Regions from separate parts of the Homo sapiens genome. Here region 1 is linked to region 2. Evidence: promoter capture Hi-C in 16 types of primary human blood cells and fetal thymus (Javierre and others, 2016). All regions are on one chromosome and are shown on one strand. Each heading gives the region's core, a stretch centred on a gene start or on the middle of the fragment in contact. The rest is flanking DNA. Distances are from core to core; before and after follow the strand shown. Region 1 has its middle 43 kb from the start of LUZP4. Region 2 holds the start of DANT1 (DXZ4 associated non-coding transcript 1, proximal).

Region 1 (3,546 bases), core at 1,017-3,516, 510 kb before region 2:
ACAAATTGTGGAGTTTTGGGCTACTTCAGAAAATAGATATTCGTTTGAAGGTGGAAAATATTTTATCCTTAAACCAGTTTCTCAATTTAATTCGGACAGTTGATCTTCAGGGTATTCAAACAACTAATCCTGAAAGTCTACTAGTAAAGAGGAGTTATGGCATAATTTTGCATTTCTCAGAACCACACCTGGCAGCTGTGGTAGTCAAGACCAGCCTTCTTTGGAAACGTTTTGGCATCTGCGCGAAAAGCGTAACTTTAAGACCTCTGAACAATTCTTCTCCCATCGCCACAGCTATAACTAATGCTCCCCCAAATCACTTTCCTTTACCAGATAAGTAACCAGGGAACTTTAAACGCCTGTTCGCTTTTTAAATTCAAATATCCCTCAGGGAATTTGAATTGTTATAGGTTTTTGTGTTTTGTTTTGTTTTTGAGACAAGGTCTTGCTCTGTCCCCCAGGCTGGAGTGCAGTGGCATGATCTCGGCTCACTGCAACCTCCACCTCCCGGGTTCAAGCGATTCTTGTGCCTCAGCCTCCCAAGTAGCTGGGACTACAGGCTCGTGCCACAGCACGAGGCTAATTTTTGCATTTTTAGTAGAGACGAGGTTTCACCATGCTGGCCAGGCTGGTCTTGAACTCCTGACCTCAGTGGATCTGCCCACCTTGGCCTCCCAAAGTGCTGGGATTACAGGCGTAAGCCACCGTGTCTGGCCATGAGTTGTCATAGAATTTTAGTGTCGTAAATCGTAATAAAATATAGTTTTATTTTGATTTTAAGGAAATAAATCTGGGACTAAGGGCTTAAACAACTTTCCCATGATTAGATAGCTACTTAGTGGCAGAGCTAAATGAAACAAGGCCTAGGTCTCCTACCTTCAGCCCACTGTAGGCTTTATGTTTATTTAGGTTCTGCTATTATATATATCATACTGCTTTTTTTTATGAATATATACCTTGCAATAGTACGCTGTCTGGGGCTCGCTTTAAAATATTTTAGAAATCAATCACCCATTCAGCAAAATATATAAATTATGTATAATTTATAAATAAATATTAGCTGGGCATGATGAGGCAGCCGCAGTCCCAGGTACTCGGGAGGCTGAGATGGGAGGATTGCTTGAGCCAGGGAGGCAGAGGCTGCAGTGAGCCGAGATCATGCCACTGCACTACAGCCTGAGTTATGGAGTGACACCCTGCCTCAAAAAAAAAAAAAAAAAAGAAAAAGAAAAAAACAAGAAATTTATAAATAAATAATATACAGTATATGAAATTATATAATAAATATAATAAAGTTTTTTTAAGAGTATATCTTATTGAGATACCAAGGAAGGAACATTAAAAAAGATGGAATGGAAAATGGAGAGGTTGAGGATGAGGACAAATTTCTTCCAGTTACTTCTTCATCTACTGGTGATGCTTGACTGAATCAGCTGTGTGATCTTAGGGAAGTCATTTCCCCTCTATAAGCTTGTTTCTTCATCTGGTAAGTGAGGTCTTTAGGAACGATGGCCCTAAAGGTACCTGGAAGCAATATGCATCTCAGCTCCCTACGAAAACCCCCAAATATTTAAATTCCTCTTTGGATTTTCTGAAAGGGATGGCAAAAGAAGCCTCAGATCAGGTAGAGCCCCATGGTTCTGACTAAATCATTTCTGACAGCTAGGCAGTTCCACGGCCCCACAGTTCCTCAGAATGCTCCAAAGCCACCAGTTCTGAACTGGGACTGAAGTCTTTAGGAAGCAGCCATACTTAGTGTTGCAGTTTCCCCATAGCTTAAGGGTACCCAAGGAACATGGCTATGTACCACTCCCATGGCTCCCCGAGGCTTCCATTTAAATGTAAGAACACAGACTGAGGTGGACCAAAGTTTAAATCCCACCTCTGCCACTTCCTAGACGTGTATGATCTTAGTTATTTCTAGTTCTCAATCTCCCCATAAATAAAACTGTTGGGAAAATTCAGTATTCAATAAAGGTGAGTAAGAAGGTAGATAGAGAGGTAGACAGAGAGGTGATAGGATAATATATTTGAGATATTGAATTTTTGCCCTCCAGGAGTTCGCCCCCTTCCCATTCAAAGTGCTAGTCATTTCGGTACTCATTTTCTCAGTGGTGGCATGTGACTATCATAAGGCATAAACAGTAAGATCTTTCTGACTTAAGAGGGCAAAATCTTCAGGCAGTGGTGTGCTGGAGCCGGTTCCAACTGGCTCCTTGAGCTAAAATTAACCATTTTAAAGTAAACAACTCAGTGGCGCACATCTTGTTCCAAAACATTTCCATCAATCACTACAAAATAAAACCCCACACCAATTAAGAAGTTACTCCCCATTCATCCTCCTTTCAGGCTCTGGTAACAACCATTCTACTTTTCATTTCTCTGGATCTTCCTATTCTGGATATTTCATATAAGTGGAATCGTGTGCCCTTTTGTTCCTGACTTCTTTCACCTAGTGTGACGTTTCTAAAGTTCATCCACTTTGTAGCATGTATCAGTACTTCATTCCTTTTTACGGCTGAATAATGTTCCATTGTATGAATATACCACTTTTGTTTGTCCATTCATTAATTGATGGACATTTGGACTGTTTCCTCTTTTTAGTTGTTATGAATAATACTACTGTGAACATTCCTGTATAATTTTTTTTGTGTAAACATATGTTTTAAATTTTCTTGGGTATATATATGGGAGTCGAATTTCTGGGTCATATGGTGACTGTGTTACCAGAGTTGTGAATAAATGCCTACAATCAGCCATCAAGAGCTATTTGGAAATCAGTACGTGGAAAGATATTCAACATCATTAGCCCTGGGAAGGGGGAAATGTAAACCAAACCACAATGAGATAACACGTCACATCCACTAGGCAGATAATAACAAGTGTCAGGGAGGATGCAGAGAAACTGAAACCCTCATACATTGCTAGTGAGATTGTAAAATGGTGCCGCTGCTTTGGAAAACAGTCTGGTAGTTCCTCAAACGGTTAAACTTCGAGCCTTCATTTGTGAATGCCTCCTGGGCATGGGAGGGGGTGGTCAGGCCCTGAACAGAATAGCTAGAGAAGCTTCTTCCCTCCTCCCCCTGGGATGAGATAATCATTAAACACATGCCCATTCAGATAGACAGATGGATATGTGGATCTGATATTCACCTCTTTGGTGTCACCTCACATCTTATTCCCACCCCCATCCCCAATTCTCACCTTCCTGAGTGGTAGATATCCTACTGCAATGCAAATTCTCTCCAAAACAACTAATGCAGAAAAGGTAATCCATGGTTTCCCCTCTTTGTTATAACTGATTTTCTGGGGGGTTTTTGGAAGTGCGAGCAGAGACTTACCATGTAACTTACATATGCAGTTCACATTACGTATTGTCCTGCCACTGGATCTGATTGCCACCATTCCACTCCTGGAAATGCCCACTTCATTCCTTTCATCCTGTCTAGCTCCTTCCCATCCTGTGAGATCCAGGTCAAATCTCGTGCCCTCTGTAAAATTTTTCCTCAGTTAAATCCAGGATAAAAGTGCCCAGTGACTGGGTAG
Region 2 (3,607 bases), core at 246-2,745:
AGTAAGAGAAAAGGTCTGGGAGTATCTGGCAGCAGGTGGTCTTGGGGTGGGGGTGGCGGACTGAGAGTGTGAACGTCAGTTGGTGAGGAGTGAAATGGAGCCAGGAAATTCTGAGAAGTTGGAGCTGGTCAAAGACCAGTTGTAGTGCCCTCAGAGGCCTTAGATTTCTTTTTAAGTGTCTCTTTTAAGGTGAGTTCACTGGAGAGTGTACCTGGGCAGGAATGACTTTGGTTCCCACTGAAAACACGTTTCCATTTGTGAAAAAAAAAATTCTCCCAAAAACCAATCAAGGACTACATTGTGAAGAGAAAAAAAAAATTCCACAACATCTTCACAGTCAAGTTTTTAAGCAACCCGAATAGCTTGCATGATTCCCATGAGCCTTGGGAACTCACCAGGCTATTATTTTTAAAGGACCTTTATTTGCATCTCCCCTCCCCTTAGGGAACAAGGTGCTGGGAGGATGCATGCCCCAAGTTAACACTCCTCAGAGTACTGTCATCAACAGATTATCTTCATTTTCCTTAATACGCTACAGGTGTCTCCATTCTGCAAGAGCAGCAAGTCCCTTTTTTTTTTTTTTTTTTTTTTTGAGACGGAGTTTTGTTCTTGTTGCCCAAGCTGGAGTGCAATGGCGCGATCTCGACTCACCACAACCTCCGCCTCCCAGGTTCAAGCGATTCTCCTGCCTAGGCCTCCTGAGTAGCTGGGATTACAGGCATTCGCCACCAAGCCCGGCTAATTTTGTATTTTCAATAGAGACAGGGTTTCTCCATGTTGGTCAGGCTGGTCTCGAACTCCCGACTTCAGGTGATCCACCCGCCTCGGCCTCCCAAAGTGTTGGATTACAGGCGTGAGCCACCGCGCCCGGCCGCAAGTCCCTTTTTTCAAAAGAAAATATCAATCAGAGGACTGGTCAGGCAGGGGAAACCTGCGAGTCGCTGTCACTCCTTCGGCCTCAGCACATCCCCACCCACCTAGGCGGCATACGCGCCACCAGCAGCATCCCCTGGAAGGCTGCAGAAGCAGCGCTGGGCCCCTAGCAGTTCCAGAAAAAAAGTGGGAGGTGACAGGGCACCGGCAGTGTCTGGTCTTGGGAAGACGCCTCTCACCTGGGGAGGGAACAATTGAAGCTTTCAATAACGTCAGGCATACAGATGATACAAACTTATAACATCGCCTGAAAGTGTACTTGCTTAAGCTTCTTTTTCCTCTAAACCGTTTTGTGAATGTTAAACAGTAAACTTTTCATTTTCTCGATACATCAGTCTCCTTTGCCCTCTTGCCAGCGAAGACCTTACTCAAAGGAAACAAATGGGACAAATAGGTACTCCTCAGCAATTAGCTAAGACAAGAGGTTTCCCACCCAACTTTCCCAAAGCTGCCTCTCTCCGCCCCTTCTTGCACCAGGAGCAGGCTGAGGACACCCCACTCCTACCCTGGGCGGAGCCGGCTCTAGGAAGACCGGATTCCTCTCCCTTCCCCTCCCCGGATTCTTTCAGCCCTCACCTCCCAGGAATGGGGAGGGGGCATCCTACCCCATATCTGAGGTGCGACTGCGGGACGTAGAGCGGACTGGGCCTTTCCCGTTGGCGCGTGGCCTCAATCAGGTAGGTCTCCTTCGCCTTTTCTTTCCTTTATTTGCCTTTCCTTTCCTTGACACAGGACACGAGATCAGGGTTTGTGCCATGGGCAGCCTTTCTGGTGCAGAGGACCTTCCCTGCCCTCCGGCTTCTGGGCAGCCAGTGCCGGGCGCGCGACCTTGTGCAATGGCGGCTGCAGCCGAGCTGGCTCCAGCGTCCTGCAGGCATCGGAGGGCTTTCGGGCGCGTTTTGGACGCCGAGTTTTTGCCGCTGCCTAAGTTTTAGTTCTGGCAAGTGTAGGGAGGTCCTTCTAGTAGAGCCTTTCTGGCCTTCCCCGTCGGGAGCCTGGAAGCGTCTCCTGTGGCAGGGCGGGCAGAGGGAGAAGGGTGCGCCTGCAGATTTCTTCGCCCCACTGGTGTTCTCCCCACCTACATGGCTGAGGAGGTGTGCGCTCTCGTTCGGTTTAGATTGAGTGGTTGTTAAACCACGTGGCTGCCCTGCCCACAGGCAGGGCTCCCCGTAATGTAAAACTGTAGAAGAAACATTTCCTCTAACGAATAATTGAACAAAAAGAAATACAGCTTCAGGCCGGGCGCAGTGGCTCACGCCTGTAATCCCAGCACCTTGGAAGACTAAGGCGGGAGAATCACTTGAGACCAGGAGTTCGAGTCCAGCCTGGCCAACATGGTGAAACGCCGTCTCTAAACAAAAATTAGCCACGCATGATGCCGCGGGCCTGTAGTTCCAGCTACTCTGGAGGCTGGGGCGGGAGGATTGCTTGTGCCCAGGACTTTGCGACTGCAGTGAACTGGGATTGCTCCATTGCACTCCATCTTGGGCATCAGAGCCAGAGCCCTTCTTTTAAAAAAAGAAAGAAAAACGGCAATATACTTCATTTCCATATATGCACTTAACAACGTGGAAGGACAAGCCCTCAAAATTTTCAGGGACTTGCCTGGGCGAGGTGGCTCACACATTTAATCCCTGGACTTTGGGAGGCCAAGGCGGGCGAATCACAGGGTCAGGAGTTCGAGACTAGCCTGGCCAACATGGTGAAACCCCGTCTCTACTAAAAATACAAAAAAATAGCTGGGTGTAGTGGCGGGTGCCTCTAATCCCAGATACTCGGGAAACTGAGGCAGAAAAATCGCTTGAACCCGGGAGGGGGAGGTTGCAGCGAGATGATAACCTGCCAATGCACTCCAGCCCTGGTGACAGAGTGAGATTCCGTCTCAAACAACAAAAATTTCAGGGCTTTCACATTTTCATCTTTCTACAGTTCTGTAAAATAGGATTTGAAATGGCCGTGATTATTAATGAAATAAAAAGAAGATTATAAAGAAATAATTTAAGGTATCAAAGATGATAGAAGATAGTCATAATAATACAAAATATCGATACAAGTTGGACAAATTATGTAGACAAAGAGTCAAAAAGGAAAGAAAACACAATTACATTGGTTATTTCTAGAGGGCAGTGCTCAGTGTGTGTGTGTATTTGTATGTGCATATGTTTCTTGTTACTGATACTGAGGCAAAAGTTTGGCTTTCTTTTCTCTTCCCTTCTCTGATTCTTTCCTCCTTTCTTGATAGGGAGTCTTCCTCTGTCACCCAGGCTGGAATGCTGTGGCACCTTCAAGACTCACTACAGCCTCAACTTTCTGGCCTCCAGCAATCCTCCAAACACATCCTCCAAAGTAGCTGTTATTACAAGTGCGCACTACCACACCGGGATAGTTTTTGGTTATTGTTTGGATGGGTCTTTTATTAATATTACTATTTTTTGCAGAGATGGGGTTCCGCCATATTGCTCACGCTGGCCTAGAACTGCCGAGCTCAAAGAATCCACCTACCGTGACGTCCCAAAGTTGTGGAATTGCAGTGCTTCACTGGCCCCGGCCTTATTTCCAAAATGAAATAACTCACATAAGTTCTGTGGTGACATGTAAAAACCCAATTCCCGTAACAGCTTTCCCAACGTTGATTTTTTAGACATGATGAATGTTATGTGTTCTTATTAATCCA

Evidence for each region. Contacts are between HindIII fragments. The CHiCAGO score rates a contact against its expected background, and 5 or more counts as called.
Region 1: a contact is called between a fragment that was not itself captured here and the fragment with the promoter of DANT1 in region 2, in 4 of 17 cell types (erythroblasts, megakaryocytes, fetal thymus and 1 more). The highest score is 8.3, in erythroblasts.

The regions. Positions count from the first base shown.
Region 1 is chrX:115,330,824-115,334,369 of GRCh38, forward strand. No RefSeq gene overlaps it. Among named protein-coding and RNA genes, the nearest start is that of LUZP4, 43 kb to the left of the region's middle. The HindIII fragment of the contact is 1,596 bases long and covers 1,469-3,064 here.
Region 2 is chrX:115,839,469-115,843,075 of GRCh38, forward strand. DANT1 (DXZ4 associated non-coding transcript 1, proximal) reads left to right here and starts at 1,496. Exons shown (of 2, transcript NR_147173.1): 1 at 1,496-1,610. DANT2 (DXZ4 associated non-coding transcript 2, distal) reads right to left here. Exons shown (of 2, transcript NR_132337.1): 2 at 928-1,112. RefSeq lists enhancers at 1,210-1,809, 1,810-2,408. The HindIII fragment of the contact is 4,420 bases long and covers 1,200-3,607 here.